4 separate regions of the Homo sapiens genome follow, and regions 2, 3 and 4 are each linked to region 1. Evidence: promoter capture Hi-C in 16 types of primary human blood cells and fetal thymus (Javierre and others, 2016). All regions are on one chromosome and are shown on one strand. Each heading gives the region's core, a stretch centred on a gene start or on the middle of the fragment in contact. The rest is flanking DNA. Distances are from core to core; before and after follow the strand shown.

Evidence for each region. The method cuts DNA at HindIII sites, captures the fragments that hold promoters and counts their contacts. A CHiCAGO score of 5 or more calls a contact.
Region 2: a fragment that was not itself captured here is called in contact with the fragment with the promoter of DPYD-AS2 in region 1 in 1 of 17 cell types (megakaryocytes); the score reaches 5.2 in megakaryocytes.
Region 3: a contact is called between a fragment that was not itself captured here and the fragment with the promoter of DPYD-AS2 in region 1, in 5 of 17 cell types (endothelial precursors, M2 macrophages, M0 macrophages and 2 more). The highest score is 9.4, in endothelial precursors.
Region 4: a fragment that was not itself captured here is called in contact with the fragment with the promoter of DPYD-AS2 in region 1 in 1 of 17 cell types (endothelial precursors); the score reaches 7.4 in endothelial precursors.

Annotation. Positions count from the first base shown.
Region 1 is chr1:97,795,648-97,798,219 of GRCh38, reverse strand. DPYD-AS2 (DPYD antisense RNA 2) reads right to left here and starts at 1,299. Exons shown (of 3, transcript NR_046591.1): 1 at 1,148-1,299; 2 at 925-1,005; 3 at 169-752. All of the region lies in intron 3 of DPYD (dihydropyrimidine dehydrogenase), which reads left to right. The HindIII fragment of the contact is 2,382 bases long and covers 1,271-2,572 here.
Region 2 is chr1:96,962,797-96,965,368 of GRCh38, reverse strand. No RefSeq gene overlaps it. Among named protein-coding and RNA genes, the nearest start is that of DPYD-AS1, 130 kb to the left of the region's middle. The HindIII fragment of the contact is 2,609 bases long and covers 1-2,572 here.
Region 3 is chr1:98,466,654-98,469,225 of GRCh38, reverse strand. No RefSeq gene overlaps it. Among named protein-coding and RNA genes, the nearest start is that of SNX7-DT, 190 kb to the left of the region's middle. The HindIII fragment of the contact is 865 bases long and covers 866-1,730 here.
Region 4 is chr1:97,144,087-97,146,658 of GRCh38, reverse strand. The region is part of intron 20 of DPYD (dihydropyrimidine dehydrogenase); the gene reads left to right. The region is part of intron 1 of DPYD-AS1 (DPYD antisense RNA 1); the gene reads right to left. Among named protein-coding and RNA genes, the nearest start is that of DPYD-AS1, 49 kb to the right of the region's middle. RefSeq lists an enhancer at 474-1,724. The HindIII fragment of the contact is 1,543 bases long and covers 503-2,045 here.

The DNA.
Region 1 (2,572 bases), core at 50-2,549:
TAGATGACACAGCAAAGGACTCTACATATAGGTTAGGACCATATTCTTGTTGGGAAGATGGCCAAAAAAGAATTTTGAGGATATTTTTTCAATTATTTAACAAATATTGAAAATCTATTATGTTCCACTTGGAAAAGAAAGAATTGGTGGGTAGGAGCCAACTAAGATCCAATAAACTTTTGTCTGTGACTTAACTCTTCTGAAGTTGTCAGAACGTTATGTTCCCCAGAGTTAGTTGTTTTGGTTGACAGAAATCTATGATATGCCAAATAAAGACTTTCTAGTTACTATTAACTTTGCCTTGCATGTAGAAAGAAAATATTACTCATCAGAACTTATCATAAATCTTAGGATGCAGTCATATCCCTACATATATTTTGATTATTTCAAAATCAAATATATACTTTAAAAAAGGCTTACTATGTTTTGAAGGGTTCATATTTTTTTTCTGAAAAATGGCAAAATAGTGCTGGCCTCATGATGCTTGGTTTAGTACAGGAACATACATACTAATATAAACAGTATGCCCAGCCAATTCATTATCATCCTGGAACTATATTCAGCCTGGCTACTATCATGAAAGATGAGTAGAAGCAGTGAGCTGGCAAAGCTGGCCTCTGCCTCTGGTTGTTAAGCTGTTGGCAGCTCAGGATGCATGACCTTTCAAATATACGCTTCTAATTCAGGACTTCTTATGATGTCATGTAGTTATGTTCTTCCCTTTTAGTGTATTCTCTCTTCAAAATTCTGTGCTGAAAAAAGGAAAAAAAAGAAATGTAAGCTACTATCCTTTTGGCCAAATGTTGAACTTTTCCTTCTGTAACTTTGTAGGTAGGAGACAGCAGAGTAACTGATCTTCCTACTGAAATGAATTTCCTTGAGCAAAATTATTTCAAAAAATATGTCTGGTATCTTTGTTTATACCTCAGGGTTGCCGAGCTGTCAGCTGCATGCCTGCTTTTCATTGAAGCATATGTATATTTGTGTATATATGTGTTTGTATGGCTTCCAATAGCATAGTAATAATTTCAGGGGAGGAAATAGAAAAGAAAGCAAGATAAATGTATTACATTTTTGTATTTCCTCCTTGCATTTTTTTAAAGATAAGACTCTGTTGTAAAATATAAACTGGCAATTTGATCATTACTTGTTATTCATTTGAACTAGTTCAGTCAACAGATAATGGACAGTGAACAGAGAGACCTCTTTTGGTAAGCCATGTAGTTTTTCCAGGGGTGATTGTTATGCTATGTGTATTTAGATAGAAGCTTTTCCCTGTGTAATCAGCTTGCTGCTGCCCATTTTACTGCCAAACATTCCTTCTCTATGGTAGCATAATACTGTTACCAAGGGAACAGCTTATGGCCGACACATACAGTAGTGCCACAAATTAATTTCACAGTTATCAGGATATAAGGTGATAACAGTAACGTGAGCTACTGTGAAATTACCATTGTTCCCACAGAGTTAGTGTAATTATTACTTTTGTGGTAACTAAGCAAATAATTCACATCACTACTCCTGGATGTTTGTTCTCTCTTCTCTGTCTCACCCTCCTTCTTTGTCTTTCCCTTTCCTTCCTATATTTTCCTCTTTTGTTGATTCAGACTCTCTCCCTGAGTCTCTTTTCACAATTACCAATTAATGTAGAGTATTTTTTATATTGGCATTAAGAAAGAGTTTTATTGAAGTGGGGTGAAGGCATCTCATATATGTAACTCATGGGCATAATTAGGATGTTCACTTCTATCAAAGATATAAAGGACTAAAACAGTGTATTGAGAGGATACATTCAATTTGTGATCAATGTAGACTCAGAGATTCCAGTTTTATTTTCATAGAATGTTAACTTCATGTGTTGAATAGAAGGATCAGTTTAATGTGATTAAAAGCAGTGGAGAAAAATTAACTTCCCTAATTAGCTGTGTTGCTTAGGACAAGGAAAACAACTTAGCTTTTTAGTACTTACATCTATAAAATTGGGATAATAATAATGCCTACCTAACAGAATTGGTATGTGGATTAAAAGAGATATGTGTGAAAGTGAATTTTAAACTGTACAATAAAAGTTTTAAGCTATTATGATCATTGTCATATAAATGGGGATACATCTGTAAAATGGGGTTAAGTATATTCACCTAACAGAATTGGTATGTGGATGAAAAGAGATATGTGTACAAATGAATTTTCAGCTGTACAATACAAGTTTTAAGCTATTACCATCATTGTTATATTTTAATGGAGGCATCTTTTGATGATAGCCTACCCTCATTATCAGAAAATTTATAAGGATAATTCAAAATAACAGCAGTAACACAGGGAAGAACACTTTTTATTGCATTTTATTATAATAAAAAGAGTGTTTCATTATACCTAGGGCACAACAAAATGAGATGTTATCATTATAAAATAACAGTAATTTTAATAATGAAATTTTCCAGAGAATGAGTCATATTTTTTATTGTTTTTATTGAGTATATGTATATGTTAATTAAAATTTCAGCATTGAAATATAAAATAATATAGGAGTGTGTATAGTATGTCCATTATTTTTTAAAAAGCTACAATGGTG
Region 2 (2,572 bases), core at 55-2,554, 830 kb after region 1:
CTCAAACATCACTTACTTTGTACCTGGAGGTTTGTTTTCCCTCTGTGTTGGAACAGATTTTTTTTTTAATGTATAGGCAACCCTAACACCATTGTTCTATTTTTCATACTTGGAGCTCTTCTTGCCTTTTGTCATATCTGATATTGTTTTAATATGTGGAAATCAGACAAAAATGTCAAAAGAAGAAGAAAACACCAGCAGAGATGTACTATAAATTGAAATATTTTATATCTACAGTAAAAAAAAAACCTTTAATTTTAAAAATGCCAGAAATGATTCCATCAGTATGAAAATAAAGATGTCATGACTAAATAGGAATTTTCAGTCTCTTAGCTGTCAATAATTAATAGATTATTTACACTGGCACACTTACATTTCCCAGCTTTCTGGATTCCATTTACACTTTGATCCTTTGCTCAGCAGCAAATTTAGCATCATTGTGACCTTCCTCTGCCCAACACCATCCGCCCATCAGACAGGGAGAGAGCATCATCTGATATGTGCATTTATTAAGGCAGCAAGCTCCAAATATTGGAAAAATGACAAATGCCAGTGTTTCCTATAATAAACTGGAAAAGAAACAGATTGTTCTTAAGGAAAAATCAATTAGCAAACCCTCTCTACAATGCTTTTCTTAGGAGACAAGATGTTTGCATCCTATGGTGAAGTATGGCTCTTAAAAGATTGTTTCTGATTAAAATCCTGCAGAATTGATAGCACTTTTGCAATGGTTATATAATTTCTTCATATAGAGGAAATCTTAATGTTAAAGATTCACGATGTCTGCTTAATTGTATTGCAAACAATGGTTTAAAATAATTGAAGTATCATTAACACCCTGATCTTAGAAAAGCCTAGATTATGATGAAAAAATGTACATTTAATTAAGTTTATATTTTAAAAAAGAAAATGAAAACTTATTTAAAAATTATGCCCAAGAAACATATTGTGAAAGTCCATACATCATATTAATGGTCAGAAAAAGCGTTATGAAACCATGGAATCTTAAAAATGTATAGTAATCAATGTGATAATATTTGGTGTAGATGCAAAAGACTATTAGTGTGGAAAATCATTTTGAAGCTGATTTTTCCTTTGATGTTGATTCAGGTTTGCATATTAAAAGATTTTGAACTAGGCCAAAATGATGTGGAGCTCCAATATGCAGTAAAGATATAAAGAAGAGTGAAAAATACACACTGTAGCTGCTATGTAAACAAGATGTCAAATATTATTTGTGGATTTCCTTACTAGAAAATGGTTGTGCAGATAATGTGTCAACATTTGCATTAATGATAGCACTGTTAATAATGAAACTGTGCAGGATGAAGCTCTTGGTACCATGTTTCAGCTTGGAATGTATTAGGGGAGGGAGAGGTGTATTTCACCTTTCTAAAAACAAAGACTTCAATATTAAGAATATATTACAAGTACAGTCTTCATGGTGAGTATGCAAATATCATCCTGCTTTCCCATGGCCTCTTTTTAGGCCATATTCATTCAGAATCAAAAAGAGAACAAGGGTTTTTTTTTAAGGTTATATGAGATTGAAGTGACACCTATACTGCTTTTGTGTCGATTTGGAAATTCTAAGCTCTTTTCAAGTGCTCCCCGTTGACCAGTCAGCAGGCCAAAGCTGCTTTTACCTCCCTTGGAAGGCTCCATAGACAAAGACAACCTTTTTTCAGCCAGTGTAGATCTGGTTTTATTGTTACTGTCTCACTCTATGGCATCTAACCAACAGCTAAGATAACTAAAATCTCTAGAATTTATGGAGGGCTTTTATTTCAACGAAAGTACTTTTATATCTATTTTTATTAAAACATGAAAACTTAGGGCTCAAAAGAAATTCAAGTTCCCTGGCCCATTTTTCACCTAGAGGTTCACTCTCATTTGATACGATTCTAAAATGCTGAAAATACACTTTGCCTAGGAAATGAAGGGTTAGAAATGAACCATTTCCAAGACCCCTTATCACTACGATGTTTTCTTTCTATGATTCTTCTTATGTAAGCCTCCAAATGAGATATTCCAAAAAGAACTTTGAGAAATCTCTGGGGTTTTCTTAGCAGACTACACTAATGGAAAGTTTTTCCATTAATCTATCTTCTGTTCCTTGCCCAGAATTTTATAAATGTGTTCAATCACCATATTAATTACAAAGCCACATGTGGGTGTCTAGAACATTCCAGACTCGAAAAGTATTTTCTTCCACCTGAGTGTAATCATGACATGAGCACCTGATCTCGTTTACTTTTCTCTCCAGAGCTGTGTACTTGTCCTCTTTCCAGCCTGACTGTGACTCACAGAGGGAAGAAGAACAAGGCAGGTTTTTCTAGTCCAGGATTTTTTTTCTGCTGTGAGTACGTATTTTTATTCATTGTGGTAGGTATTCAGTACCCCAGCAAATTACATCCTTCATGCAATACCACAGCATAGCAATTTCCTTTGCAAAATTCCTTGGCAGGAAATACTACCAAATGCTAACTTTGTCCCAGAAATAACTGCATATTGGACCATATGAAAGATTCTACACAATATAATTTAACTATGCTTAAAGAAATGGTGATGC
Region 3 (2,572 bases), core at 49-2,548, 670 kb before region 1:
ACTTTCTCTGTAACAAAAAGAACCCTAAAACAACACTTTACCTTTGAGTAGTTTCAAAATGCAAAGCAAGGGCATGGGCCTGTAGGTGTTAATCGCTGCTTAGTTGATGTGAGAAAATTCACACGATATTATACCGGGGTTTTAAAAATGAGTGTCCATATTTATTTTGATGAAATGCTAAAAAGCTTTATTTTTCATCTTTCCAGTGAATGCAATATTTCCTTATTTTTTCAATAAAAAATGCAGGGAATCAGCAACATTATTAAATAGATTGCAGTGCCCATTATATATCTCCAGCATTTGATTTGTTGGGGAAAAATTAAAGCTAACTGGCTTTGATGACACAGAAATTTAATACTCAAAATGAATGACATTTAATGTTTTTATAAGAAAAGATGCCTTTTTAAAAAATGTGTTTCAAAGGAGATATCTCTTCTACACAAATATACAAAAAAGGTACTAGAAAAATGGCAAAGCTGTGGAGGTGAGACCACAGAACTCCCATATACTTCCTTTGTTTTGTCATTGTTGATGTAGCCACTAGTCATTTAGATTTAAAGACTGGAACTCTGCTCAATAATCTTCCAGCTCCAACTTTCTCTTCCTAATGCCATACATATACTGACATCTACCTTTTATAGTAATTTTGTTATTTTCTTTTGTTCTTCTTTGCCTTCTTAAGAAATGTGATCTTAAAATTATTTTTTTCTGCAGACACAAGTTCTCAGTTCCTTTACTATTCTGGTAAAATATGAATTGAAATGATGGCCTGGACTAGAAATAATTATTTAAATTGCTTTAGTTTCAGAGAATTGAAAAAGATAAAGCATATTTTCATTTAAGGATAGTTCATTTTAAATAAGCTTCTTCAGGAATCTTAGTTACAACTTGCCTGACCAGTGTCCACTAGATGACACTGTTGTATAAGCACAATAATGAGTGGTGATCGCTTTGACAATAACTAATTTATCATATATATATATATTTAGATATTGTCAGCGTCTCTCTTTCTAGATGAAACTGGCTTAGCATTTTTAATTGGATATGGCTGATAGCTACAACTTCACATCATTTATGGTAAAGTTATCCTAAGAGGTTAAAATGCAATGTAAAAAAAGAAGCATGTATTTCACAGCATTCATACTTTTGCAAAAGAAAAATCTTTTCGAAATCTATATATTTCACAGTTAAAATAGATTTCATTATGAATTTTAAATTGTGCCATCTTAAATCGAGTGACAATGATTGTACTGACAACGTTGGTTATCAAGTAGTATTTTGTCAGTAATATATATATTTTTTTCTTTCTCTCTCCCCTTCCTGGCGTCCTCCCTCCCTTCTTGTCTTTTCAGTTCTCTCTTTCTTCTCTCCTTGATTTTGGATTGAGAGCCGTTCTAGTGCAGTGCCAAAATCAGGGGAAGAATCAATTGCCTTAAGCTAACAGACCCTGTGCCGCATTGTTGCCAAGCTGGGAAACTTTAGCCTGGAAAACTCACAGAAAAACAGACACAATCATGATGTGCCTGTACACATGGAGCCATATAAGGAAACTTTGACTACTTGGAACTGTATACTACAGATTTCTAGACATAGACATTTTGAGATAAAATCTACCACTTGGAAATATCATGTAGATTATTGAGATTTTCCTCAATAATAGTATTCCTTTGTAGGATTTCTTCCTTTCTCATTCTTCTATTAATGCTCAAAAATCACTGTTAAATTAAGCTTGTTTGCTGTTATTTCAATTTAAAAAGAACAGTGAAGTAAAAACATCCATGCTCCCTTCTATAGATTACATACACTAATCTCATGCTGTTTACCTGAAAAATCTTGAGGAGGAGCCAAGCCTAAAAGAGAATTACTCTAAGCACAAGGGGTGATTGAAATGTTTTATGGCATGTGGCATATCTCAGAGGGAAGTGACAGACATGTCACCTTATTTTTTATTTTTTAAGCCAGACATGCTAATGCTAGAGAAGTGGAGATGCCTTATACTTCAGTGAGAAGCCCACTGCACACAGGAATATCTACACCCCAGCAGAATATGCCACACACTTTTATTGCTGAGTTTTTGCTAGACAATGTTTTGTCAATACAACTCACAAACAGAACTCTCAGATCATGCCATTGTATTTATGGCAAGGTACAGAAAAGAGTAGAAAAGGGATTCGCATCCTCAAATTTGTTTTCAAAAACATGGACATCACGTTTAAACACCTGAACAGTCTCTTCATGGGCGGAAGGTGGGAATTCAGATCAGATGAACTTTGCATATACTTAGTTTCTCTTTTTTCATATCTCACAGTCTCTGCTTTCTTCTGCCTTCTTCTTCTTCTTTCCTCCTCCTCCTCCTCCTCCTTCTTCTTCTTCCTTCTCCTCCTCCTTATCTCTCTCTGTGTGTGTGTGTGTGTGTGTGTGTGCATGTGCGTGTGCTTATTTACCAAAAGGAAACTTTAACTGAAAGCTAAAATGTTGCAGATAGAAGAAATTTTATATGCCAGTTCTCTCGTTCTGGGCATACCATATAATCCAATTGAGTCTTAAATTTCCCAGTACCTAATTTTGCATA
Region 4 (2,572 bases), core at 25-2,524, 650 kb after region 1:
TCCGTAAGGTTTAAAAAATGGCTAGAAAAGAATGGAAGAGTATTCTCCGTATTCTTAGATTTAACAATCATTTTATTTCCATCCAGACCTTATGGAAAGTCCATTGGCTGAAAACAGAACAGACAAACAAACAAACAAATAACCCTGAATGTTTCATAGAGACTGCCCAGAATAACAGGATGTATTGTATGGCCTTTGGACATGGTGTGCTTCCTTTACATTTGCCAATTCAAGAGCTTATGGTTGGGATGATCATATAGGCCAGTTTGTCTCTGACAGTCTTGCTTTTTGTGCCTGTAATTATCGATAATATCTTCCCTTCACTCTCAAAAGAGTTCTGGTTTAGATGAGAAAGTATATGGTCACTCTCCCTAAGGACCATTTTTATGGGCAAGTGAAAATACTCTCTCTACTTGTCAACATTGTATTAGTTTTCTTATACAAACTATTAATATTATAGAACTGGGATAGATTAGCATCTCACCCATTTCTTCCCAAAGCTTTAGGTTCATCTAAAAAGCAAATAAATCAACAGACAGACAAAAAAGCAAAAATAAACAAACAGAAAAACAAACAACAAAACAAGTCCCAAAGGCTAAGCCATTTGAAGTAGAAAAGGATAAAACATAAGGCTTAGGATCATTGGGAGAGATATTTTTTTCTCCTCCTTTTTCCCTTTTCTCTCCCAGGAATTCTTCAGTAGACTCAATTGAAGCCTTGAGTTTGAGGTTTTGTATTCTCAGATGGTAAGCACACCTATTAAAAAAGCAATGTATTCATGTTAACTCCCTGGCACCAGCAGGGCCTGTGTATTCACTGCTAGCAGTGGACACCATGCCAGGAGAACCTGACTCCTGGTGCAAAAGGATTAGGAAAAAAAAAAAAGTCAAACAATGCCAAAAAAAAAAAAAAAAACCCACACAATTCTTTTCTGTACTCTGTGGTTTGTTTTACTTAGGAAAACGGCCTGGTTATACCCTGCAGCACGCATTCATTACAGTGATCTTTGACTGGCAGATGCAGAGTAATAGGATGCATATTTTAGTGCTTATTATAATACCCTGTCCAAAAACAACTTGACAAATTTGTGATTTCGACAATATCTCATTTTGCTGGCTGCAGTGCTCTGTGATTGTCTGGCCCACGTGGCTTCCAGATTATGCATACCACCAATACTTCTCATTAAAATGGCCACAGTTCACCAGTTTCGGTAGCTTGGAACGAACTTGGAATGAATTATTATACAACAAAGAGGCTGCTGTCATGCAGAACAAAAGACAAGCAAAAGAGAGCTTTGGCTTAATGAGGCTAAGTGAGTGTCTCCCCTGCATCACAGCTACTTGACGGCCTTTGAGCATGGATTTTTTTTCTCCACAGGCCAAAACCTTTGGTCTATTATTTTGTGTTTATGCACCTTGAGGCTAATATACATTTTAATATGCTGCACATGGAGAAAAAAAATCAACCATTAGATTAGAACATGTGCACTCCCTGTTAAATTAATGACAACCGAACATAGAGATAAATTTAGGTTTTCATATTTAATTATAGCACACTGCAGTACGTTTAGCAAGGATAAATTGCACTATTATTATGCTTCATTTTTTTTGACATCTTCTCCTATTAGTAGTGCACACTTGCCCCAGCACCACCACCACCATCACCCTGTGGCCATGCTAACATCTCTGCATATCTTCCTTTTCTCCACATCACACAATCTCAGCCACCACGTTGAAAGGTATACTGTTTTATTTGCAAGATTTAGTGAGAGAACTGATGCCATTTTGGCAGTTCTGTGTGCATAAGAAAGTGATTTGTAAGAAAAAAATAAATCAGCTAAGAATAATTGTTATCACTCTTCCTTGCTGCATCAGATTATAGTGATGGGATCAAGTTCACTGCTTTTCTGATCAACCAAAAGCACAAAGCACAGCATGTGACTCTGAATAGTTGGTGTTTCATTATGACTCAGATGACCTGTGTATAAAGAAGGAGTCATAACAATCCCAAGAAAAATTCCAACAACCCTGTCACTTTTTGAAGCTTTTCTCTGTTGATTTTAATCTATTTATTGTAGAAATGGGAACACTTCAAGTAGTGAAAGTTACAGGGTAATAAAGATGGTCTTTGGGGAAAAAATTTAGCAAAGTTGATAGTAGAGATTATGAATATTGCTGTTCATTCTTTCCAGACCACCAAAGCAGGAACAGATTGTTAATATAACTGAAATGTCAAAATGAACTTTTCGTGTAGAATGACCAGAGAACTTGTAGTTCTTTCCATTTGGGGACTGTAATTTTACCTTCCATTAATTGAGTATATTTGTTTCATGTTACATCTGAGCTTATAGTTTAGCTTGCTTCATACACCAATTAATAGAGTTCCAGATGGTTGCCCAGAATGTAAGAGATTCTTCTTCTATCTTTGCGTAAAGCTGAAAGAAAGGCATTTGCCTATGTCTCTGCATTAAGGAAGCGTACCCATTTGTTGTCTTTTTGCTTTAAAAAGTCACTTGAATCAGCAAATGTCTTAAAATCAGAGAATACTTTTTCAGGATCTGAGCATTGAAATC